Linked DNA regions of Homo sapiens: region 2 is linked to region 1. Evidence: promoter capture Hi-C in 16 types of primary human blood cells and fetal thymus (Javierre and others, 2016). All regions are on one chromosome and are shown on one strand. The core of a region is centred on a gene start or on the middle of the fragment in contact, and the rest is flanking DNA. Distances in the headings are between cores, read along the strand shown. Region 1 holds the start of FAM131B (family with sequence similarity 131 member B). Region 2 has its middle 34 kb from the start of EPHB6.

Region 1 (5,254 bases), core at 1,622-4,121:
TAGCTTTTTCTCTTTCCAACTGGGAAATCTTAGGGAAAAGGAAGTTAATTGAATTATCAGCCCCAGTTCTCTCAACTGCAATGCAAGAAGAATATCTTTCTTAGAGGTTTGGAAGAATAGACTGAAAACTCTATTCTTTAAATCAATTGTATATTGATATTTGCACTTTAAAGTGAGTTTTATTTTTTTCTCTATCTCTCTCATTCTGACTCTCAATAAATGATCTTGCCTCCTTCTTGTCAGAGAAAGTAGATGCCGTCAGATGGGAATCCCTCATTCTCCTGACACCAAACATGCAGCCCACTGGCATCTGCCCCGTCTTCCCTGCTGCTGGAAGAAGAGCTGGGCTCCTCCTGTACAGTCTCATCCCCCTCCCTGAGCTCTGCTCCCATCCCTCCAGGTGGTTTTAGGAATTTACATTCAATATTAATTAATCTTCCCCTCTCTTGTACTTTGAGCTTCCCTTTCTCAATTGAATCTTTTCATAGACCTTTAACTTTGATCTAATATATCCCAATAAAATAAAAGGAACACTTGATTAAGTTGTGTTTTGGAGCCATCTCTCCATTTGTGGGGATCAGTGTGAAGCTTTGGTACCTTCTTTCAATCCTGCAGGTACCACCGAAGTACCTACAATTATTCCTGGGGACCCCAGCTTCAAAATGGGATAAGTGTCTTGCCTGATCATTTTATTTGGGGGTTAAGCCCCTGCAGAATTAGAGAACCCCCCCGCCAAGTATGTATTTAAAGTCCAGAAGTTCTTAAACTTTTTTTGTGCCCTGGACCTCTTTGGCAAGGAGACTGGGACAATGGCCTTAACTAGTGAGAAGTAGCAGAATCCTTGTATAAGAAGACCTATAGGGAGCAGGAAGGAAGCTGGCCAGGAATATGCCTAGAATATTTTACTTTTTTTGTGTGGGTAGTGGGGAGGGACTGGAAATACCTTCAAGACAGAATGCAAGATGGGACTGAGTCTCCAAGACCTGGAATCCCTCATGTTAAATCATTTGGATAAATGCAGCCTTATATAGTTGTGTTAAGGAGACCAAGGGGAGAGGTTTGCATCCAAGTTGGAACCACAGTAAGAGATACGTAGTCATATATAAATATATGTATTACTCAGGGAGAGCCATAAGGAGACAGAAGTTTCAGGTGGGAAGGCAAGAGCATAATGGCCACGTGGTCTGTTCCTCCTTACCTGGCCAGTCCCCTGTCAGCGTTTTCTCTGCTCAAACAATAGGGGTGTGTGGGCATTGCTAGAATAATGGAAGCTGTTTGTTCTTTTTTTTTTTTTTAATCATCTCTCCATCTTCTTTCCTTTGCGACTGGACAGTATATTCCATGAAAGCAGAAACTATTTGATACTTCTTTTATATAACCAATAATAGTAGATATGAAAAAAGAAAATGCTTTCTAATTCTCTCCACTATTGAAATAGGGTATCAGACCCTGCCACGAACTACACTAAACGATTAAAATCTAAGCAGACCTGCAACTGATTATTATCTCATTCCTTCCCGCGGTTTTATAGATGTAGATTTGGCTTATTTCTTCATGCACATACACCGAAGATGGATTCTGTCACCATAATCTCATCTCCTCAATCTGCAATTCAGTTGTTAGTGTCTTCTTCTTGCACATCTTCATCTGCCACCCCATGGGATGTAGCTCTCCATTCATAATCTAAAGGTTAGAAAGTTGCATCCATAAGACTTAGCCTCCCTGTTAGGAGCCCACACCAGGGACCCCTGGCCCATTGCCTTCTCTCTCTGCAACCTCGGAGAGACCTAAAAGTGGGCGAGGTGCAGTCAGAGCCTGGATGGGCACTTGCTTCTGTGAATGCCCACCTGCCCACTCTCTCACACTTTGGGCTTTCTGGGTACACCTTAGACAAAAGGGTCTCCTTGCCCTTTCTCATGCATCTTTTCTGGACTCCACTTCTTACCTGCTGTAACCACAGTGCTCATTTAACCCTTGCAACTTAGACCTTCATCTCCTCCCCATGGGGCTTGAGGTATCTACCTGGCCCAGTCCCACTAGCCAGAGGCCAATCTTTCTCTCTCTTTGCTGCTTCGGGACCGCCTTGCTTTCATTTGTCCGAGAAGATCACGTCTCAGAAAAGTTAAACTGGATTCAAGACGATGTCTCCTAGCCAGCCTCGGGTCCTGACATTGTTGTTAGTCTACTGCGAATGAACTGTCCTCCTCATATTCTCCAATCCCCAACCAGGCCTGGAGGTCAACTATCTGCACATCCCCACACCCACCCCTGAATGTCCAGCGAGCACAGAGAAGTGGACTACACGATTCACTTGCAAAGACTTCACCTTCTGTTTGGATGGACAAAATAGCGCACTCGAAACAACAGAGCCCAAAGCTGTGTCCAATCACGTTCCTGTGTGTGTCCCAGATGCGGCCCCAGGAGGAAAACAAGTGTTTGCGGAATTTGGTGGCCAAAGGCCCTTGGGCCTGGCTTTATTCTCACCACCACCCCACTTTCTCTCAGGGCATCCCCTGACCCCGGCCCGCAAAATCCATCAACCAGAACCTCGGGGTAGGCCCTGGGTTCGTGCCTCGGCTCCTGAAACCCAAGCCGGGGTTCTCCAGGAGAGAGCCCCGGGAGCGGGGCTTGGCACGGGCGGGAGGAGGGGGGCGGCGACGGCGGCCCCAGATCCCCGAGGGAGCGCCCCGGCACGGCCGGAGCAGGGGCGGGGAGGCGCGGGGCGCAGCCAATCCCCGGGCCGCCCCCTCCCCGGCCGCGGCGAGCCGAGCCGGGGCGGGGGAGCCAGGCGGCGGCGGCGGCGGCGGCGGCGGCGGCGACGGAGCTGCCGTGGGGAGGGATGGAGAGGGGAGGGGGGAGCGGAGCCGAGCGGAGACAGCCGCGGCGCTGCAGAGCGGCTGGGGCGGCGGCGCGGCTCCCGGTGCTCCCCCCGGCGCGCGCCCCGAGTCGGTGAGGGCCCGGCTCTGCGGCCCCCGGAGCCATGGGCTGCATCGGCTCCCGGACTGTGGGTGGGTACCGCGGCCGGGCGGGGGCAGGGCTGGGCCCCCCGGGCCGCCCTCCGACCCCCTCCCCCATCCCTCTCCTCGCGCCTCCGGGCGCCCCGCTCCGCACCCGCCTTGCCCTGCTAGCTCCTTCACTTTCCTTCCGTCCGCCCGCGGTCCCTCTGTCCCTCCTTCCTGCCCGCTCTCGTCTTGCGCCTCCGGGGCTGCCATCCCGCTCGGCTCGCTTCCTTCTCCCCGTCGCCCTCCCGCAGGCGCGGTCCTCTCCATCCTCTCCATCGCCCTCCTCTCCTCTGCCTCTCGGCCCGACGCTCGGTCCCCTCATCCCTGCCCCTCCAGGCCATCCGCCTCTGCTCCGCCGTCCCCAGCGCCTCCTCGCATCCCCCACTCCGGAGCAGCCCCCCGCGAAGGACCCTCGGCCTCCGCGCCAGCCCCGAGTTTCTTTCGCACGCCCCCCACGCCACCCCCCGCCGCCGCCTCCATCTGGCTCGGGTGCTTTGCCCCATCTCTCTCTCCCTCTCCGTTGCCTTTTACTGTCGTTCCTGCCTCCTCCGATTCGCTTTGTTCACGTGCGTTTTCCCTCTGGGGCGGGGGCGGGATGAGCCCGGGTTCCACGCCCGGAGGGACAGGGCCAGGGCCGGGTGGAGGGAAGGGGCTGGGGGACGCGGGGAGGAGATGGGGGCTTCGAGGCGCTGGGAGGGGTCGGGAGCCCGCGGCCCGGGAGGGTGGGGCCGGCCCTGCCTCGGCGGCCGGGGACCCGCCTGCACCTGTCAGCGGGGGCCGGCGGGGCGGGGCCGGCTCTTTATTTACCTTTGACGCGGGGAGGGAAGAGAGGCGCCTCCTAATCCATCTTCTCCCTCCAGCTTCTGCCTGGCTACCGCCCCTGACCCCCACCCAGGCACCCACTCCACTCTCGCCGCTCAGCGAATTCATCCGGCCCTCTCCCACCCCCTCCCCCATTCTTCCCCTTTCCAACTCCCAATTTCTCCCGCCTACACCTCCCGGTGACCTCAGGCTGAGAGAATAATTCGTATTATTATTACAAACAAACTCACTCTCCAGAAGCCTGATTTCCCTGAGACCCGGTTTATTTCCATGGATACCCCCTCCTCCTCTGCTTTCACCCCTTCTCCGCGGCTCTCTCCCTCCCCGCTGCCCCCCACAGCTCTGACTCAGCTCTCCGTCTCTCACAAAGGCCACCTCCCGCTCCCCTCTCCCCCCGCACCCCGCCCTCCCCTGTCTCCCTTCTCCTCAGGCTCTTCTCCACCTGCCCCATTCCTGCTGTGTCCGGAGGGCCATCTTTCCTCTTTTCCCCCAGTCACCACCCCGCGGAGCCCCAGGGGACAGCAGGCCAACTTTGGAGGGTCCTCCCTCCTCAGTCCGGTTCACCACAAGCCCCTTCCTTTCCCCCAGCCCTGCTGATGTGCTGAATGCCTCCTCGTGCCCAGCCCCATTCAATGCTCCCCTTCCCAAAAATGGAGCCGACCCCTAAACTCACAATTGTAAAACCTCATGAGTATAAAGGGCCTGTACGGTCAGATGGTTCAGGCAGCCATCTGCTGCTTGAATAGTCCCTTTATGAAGACCCAAGCAGTTCTTCCGCAAGACTCTCCGCGGCACCATCCTGCCCTCAGTCCAGGAGTCTCCCTCCACCAGGAGCTCTGGCCCGGCTGTAACAAGGACCCTCCTTCCCCTGAGTCCTGCAGTTTCCCACTCAGCCCTCAGACCCTGTCCACCCCTCCCACCATCTTCTGTCTTCTCTCTGACTTGAATTCCTATTTTCTTAATTCCTATTTTAAAAAGTTCTCTTTTCTCCTCCTGCTCACCAGCTTCCCTCCACTTTAATCCATCACTTCTCTCCCCACAGTCAGGTGAAATGCCTCCAGCTCACCCTTGGTTTCTCTGCTCACTGTTTTTGGGAGGACACACCCAACTCCTTGCTATCCAACTCCTGCCTCGATTCCCAGGAAGTCCTCTTCCAGTCAGTCAGACTCATGGACTCTTAGGAAGGGCCCACCGGGGGAGACACATCCCTTCCACCCTAAGCATAGAGAAAAGTTCCTCATAGAGCAGCTCTGCCCTTATCTGTAGACTTGTAATAGAGAAAAAGCCCAGCTCCCATACAGAAACCCTCCAAGAGTCCTCAGGACGGAATAATTGGTTTTCTGATAAAACCCAACCTCTGACCCCTCCACATAAACAACAACAAATAAGGCCATACATCACTTTTTCTGAGTGCACTATTCTGGGTTGAG
Region 2 (5,135 bases), core at 1,917-4,416, 540 kb after region 1:
GCTGAAGGCATCACATTTTCCAGTCTCAAGTTATATTACAAATCTATAGTAATCAAAACAGTATGGTATTGGCTTAAAAACAGACATATAGAATAAAGGAACCGAACAGAAAGCCCAGAAATAAACCCACACATATATGGTCAACTAATCTTTGACAAAAGCACCAAGAGTATGCAACGGGAAAAGGGTAGCCTCTTCGATAAATGGTGCTGGGAAATTGAATATCTGTATCCAAAAAAATAAAATAAAATAAAACTGAACCCTTATGTTACACTATATACGGAAAATCAACTTTAAATGGATTAAATATTTAAATGTAAGATCTGAAACTGCAAAAATTTTATAAGAAAACATAAAAAAAAGCTTCATGACATTGGTCTTGGCAATTTTTTTGATGTAACAACAAAAGAACAGATAACAAAAGTAAAAATAAACAAATGGTAATACATCAAACTAAAAAAGCTTCTGCATGACAAAAGAAACAATCAACAAAATGAAAAAGCAAACCATGAAATGGGAGAAAATTTTGTAAACCATATGTCTGATAAAGGGTTAATATCCATTTAAAAAAATGGGCAAACCGCCTGTTTTCAAAGAATATATGTTTTCATTTTTTCACTTTTCCAAAGAAGATAATCAGGTATATGAAAAGGTGCTGAACATCACTAATCATCTTTTTTGATTATTCAACATTTTTCTAAAGTAGACACTCAAATGGCCAAAAGGGATATGAAAAGGTATTCAACATCATTAATCATTAGGGAAATGAAAATCAAAACCACAATAAAATATTACCTCACATTTGTTAGGCTGGTCATTATCAAAAAGACAGTATTTTTCTTTCAGTATTTTAAAGATGTTGCTTTACTGTGTTCTCACTTGCTTTGTTTTCACCAAGAAATCTTCTGTCATCTTTATCTTGTTCTACTGTACAAAACATGTTTTTATCCTGTGGCTGCTTTTAAGATTTTCTCTTTAACACTAATTTTCAGAAATCTGATTATGATATTCTTTGGTGTATTTTGTGTATGTATGCTTGAGTTTTGTCAGGCTTCTTGGATATGTGAGGTTCGAGTTTTATTGACTTTAGAAACTTTCAGTCATGATTTCTTCCAATAGTTTTTTCTTTCTTCCCATCTTTCTTCTCTTCTTTTAAAACCCCAGTTATGTTAGTTCACTTTAAGTTGTCCTGTAACAATTAATTGTCTGTTTCCTTTCAAAAATTATTTTATTTCCTCTATCCTCCATTTTTGGTTTGCCTTTGTTGCTATATCTTCCTAGGTTACTAGTATTTTCTTCTACATTGTCTAATCTATCATTAATCTCATCCAGTGTATTTTTCATCTCAGATATTGTCATTTTCATCTCCAGAAGTTGGCTTTGCAGCTTTTAAAAATATCTTCTATGTCTGCTTAACATCTCTAGCTTAACTATTTTATTTTTAAATTAAATTATTATTATTTTTTTACTAATTCTAACATCTGTGCCAGTTTTCCTTTCATTATACGTTGCATTTTTCTGCTATTTTTGTATGCTTGGTAATTTTTTTATTTTATTCCATACATTGAGTTTTAATTTTGTGTTGGACTTTTTATTTTTCTATAAATATTTTTGAGCCCTGTTTTAGAATACAGTTACATTTCTTGAAATAATCTGATGCTTTTGTACCTGGCTTTAATCATTTGTTAGATGACAGCAGAGCAGCATTTAGTTTAGAGATCATTATCCTCCACTTCTGAGCCCAAACACTTCTGAGCTCTTGTCCCAATGCCCCATGAATTTTAATGTTTTTGAGTTTGGCTGGTGAAACTATACACTATTCCCGGCCCTACATGAAATTCAGTTACTGTTTTCTTTAATCCTTTGTGTGGTTATTTTCCCAATCTCAGGTGGTTTTTTCACACTCATGCTCTTGTTAATACCCTACTGAATACTGAGGGTGGGCTCTCTGATGACCTCACAAATTCTCTCTTTGCCCGCTTCTCTCCTCTGCTATCCTCAGCCCTGTGAACTCTACTTGACTTATTCTCCTCTCAGCTGTGTCTCCTTGACTCGAGGAGTTTGATGGTTTCCCCCTGGATTTCCCCTCTCTGTGCCATGGCCTGGAAATTGTCTCAAGGTGGTAAGCTTGTTTTATTATAAAACTCACCTCATTTTTTCTTGTCCTTCCTTGCCTGATGTCTAATGTCTTGACAACTGGTGCTTTATGTATTTTGTCCCTTACTTTGTTTTCACTGGAAATAGAAAGTCAATTATTTTTAAAGAGATTTTTTAAATGGCACAAATACTGTTTTTTATATTTATTACATATTTACTAATGATATTCTATCTGTAATAGTCTGTAGTTGGTTTGTATCAGCTCATAGGACCCAGTTGTTAAATATCCAGAAATTCTGTGAACCAGTTGTTAGAAATTGTTGTTTGCTTGAATTTGGCCATGGTGGGAATATTTATATTCACAAAATTGGTCAAAATGCTATAAATCCAGGCTTTTCCCTTTTTTCCTTTTTATCCCTCACAGGGAGCTGGCTTACCAATTCCATCTGGACTTTTTTTCATTTTGTCTGAAAGACATCCTTTAACATTTCTTATAGTGTGTGTGTCTCCTGGCAAAGAATTATTTTAGTTTTTTCATGTCTGAGAAGTTTATTGTGCCAATGTTTTTGAAAGATATTTTCACTGGATATAGAGTACTAGGTTAAGAGGATTTTTTTTACTTTAAATAATTTAAAGATGTTTCTCCACACTCTTTTGCCTGAATTGTTTCTAGTGAGATGACTGCAGTCATTCTTAACTGTGTTCATTTGTACATAGTGTGTCTTTTATTCTCTGGCTGCTTTTCAAGATTTTTCTTTATTAGTTTTAAGCAATCCAATGATACTATATCTTGTTAAAGTGTTCTTCATGTTACTTGTGCTTGGAGTTCATGAAACTTCTTCAATCTGTGGCTTTTCCTTTTCATTAAATTTAAAACTGCTTCAGCTATTAGTTATTCAATTTCTTTTTTCTGCATTAGTCCTCCAGTTTTATAGGACTCTCAATATTAGGCTGCTTAATGCTGTTCTACAGCTCACTGATGCTCTGCTCACTTTTTTTAAGTCAGTTTCTTTCTGTTTTTATCCTAGGTGAATTCTATTACCTTATCTTTAAGTTTGACTTGAGATACCTAATCTGCTGTTAATCCCATCCAGTATATTATAAAATCACATTCATTGTATTTTGCATCGGAAGAAGTTTTATTTCAGTCTTTTTTAAATCTTCCACGTCTCTTCTTAACATATGTACACTCTCTTCTATCCTGCCGAACATATTGAATATATATTTAATAGCCTTGTCTGCTAACTCCATCATGTATATCATTTCTGGATCTGTTTCTATTGAGTGTTTTTCTCCTCCTTATGACCCATATTTTTCTTTTTCTTTGCATATATGACTTTTTAAAATTGGATATCAGATATTTGAATTTTACGTTTCTAGCTACTGGAGTATTTGTATCCCTTAAATAAATTTGGGACTTTATTTTGTGATGCAGATAGATTACATAGAAACAATTTGATATTTCTGAGTCTTGTTTTGGAGCTTTGTAAGTTGTATCTAGGACAGCCTTTAGTGTACAGCAAATTTGCTTCCCGCGACTGGGGTGATCCGCTTCTGAGAATTCTCCTCAATGCCCTCTGTGTTAGGAGGTCTCCCACTCTGGTTGATGGAAGCACCATCTTTTCCCGGCCCCGTGTGGACTTTGAGATGGTTCTGCTTGATCCATCGAGTGGTCTCTCCCTAGCCTCAGGTTGTTTTCTTGTACTCACTGGTCAGAGCAGTTGAAGAGTCACTGGGAGTCCAATGCACATTCCAGAGCACTTCCCACCCACCGCTTTCTCCTCCCTGGGTCTCTTCCCTGGAATTTTAGCCATTTTGGCCTCCTCAAACCCTGAATGCAAGTCTCCTTAACTCAGAGAGACTGCCAGGCGCTGTTTGGGCTTCTCCTCCCTATAATACTGCCTGAAAAAGATCTCCAGGCTATAAACTGAGGCCATCACAGGGTTCACTTTATTCATTTCACTTCTTTCAGGGATCACGGTCTTGAGCCATCTGTTGTCCAGAGTTTCATATATTTCATGCATTTTAATTGTTTCAGGTTTGAGGGTAAATTCAGCCTCTGTTACCCCATCATAGAATTCCCTCAGACACAGATGTGTTAAGCTTTAGGAAATTCTACTGTAACCTATCTTCATGTATTCTCTTCCTCTCCCTTTAGGTTCATCTTCTTACTGTTCTTCACCGATGTCCTGTACTTTCAGCCTCTGTACCTTTGGTCATTTCTGTACCATTCATCCTTTCTTGCCTTTTAATGTCATTTTTATCAGTCTAAAACCCTATGACTTCTCAAGGACCATCTCAGAGTCTGTCTCTTATGTGAAAGTTAAACTGAGCCTCATACCTGAAAGTAATCTCTTTCATAAACAAACTTTTTTGAGCTTATCCTGCTTGGGTTTTGCTAAGCTTCCTGGATCTGTAGGTGGATATTATTTATCATGTATGAAACATTTTGGCCACTATTTTAAAAATAATTGTTTTCTGCCACCACTTTCTCTCCTCTATGTTGAAGACTCCAATGATATGTGTGCTAGGTGGCTTGATATTGTTTGGGAGTTCCCTGAGACCTCTTCCAGTTTTTGTAGTTGTTTAGCTTTATTTTCCTCTCTCTTGTTTTGACAGTTTCTGTTGTCCTGATTTCCTGTTCATAGACATTTCTCCTATAGTGTCTACTCCAACTTAAGCTTATCTAGCAAAATTTTCATTTCAGATATTTTTCAGATCTAGAAGTTCTATTTAGCTTTTTTATAGTTTCTGTTTCATTCTTCATTATGTTGTGTTTCACTATAAATCCTTGAACATATTTAATAATAGCCATTTTAGTATATTAGCCATTTATAAGTCCCATTATTTTAATTTACCATCTCTGCCATTTCTGGGTTGATTTCAATTGCCTAATATTACTACTTAGCATAGACACATTTTCCAGCTTTTAAGTATATCCCATAATTTCTGACTGGATGCTCAACATTATGAATGTTACTTTTTTATTATCTGAATTTTGTTTTCTTCTCTCAAAGAGTGTTGAGCTTTATTCTAGT

What was found. The method cuts DNA at HindIII sites, captures the fragments that hold promoters and counts their contacts. A CHiCAGO score of 5 or more calls a contact.
Region 2: a contact is called between a fragment that was not itself captured here and the fragment with the promoter of FAM131B in region 1, in 3 of 17 cell types (total CD8 T cells, total CD4 T cells and naive CD8 T cells). The highest score is 6.9, in total CD8 T cells.

Annotation. Positions count from the first base shown.
Region 1 is chr7:143,360,330-143,365,583 of GRCh38, reverse strand. It overlaps FAM131B (family with sequence similarity 131 member B), which reads left to right and starts at 2,871. Exons shown (of 7, transcript NM_001031690.3): 1 at 2,871-3,008. The coding sequence starts at 2,981. FAM131B-AS1 (FAM131B antisense RNA 1) reads right to left here and starts at 3,878. Exons shown (of 3, transcript NR_183342.1): 1 at 3,527-3,878; 2 at 2,327-2,394; 3 at 1,319-1,683. The HindIII fragment of the contact is 5,612 bases long and covers 591-5,254 here.
Region 2 is chr7:142,818,467-142,823,601 of GRCh38, reverse strand. No RefSeq gene overlaps it. Among named protein-coding and RNA genes, the nearest start is that of EPHB6, 34 kb to the left of the region's middle. The HindIII fragment of the contact is 2,073 bases long and covers 2,130-4,202 here.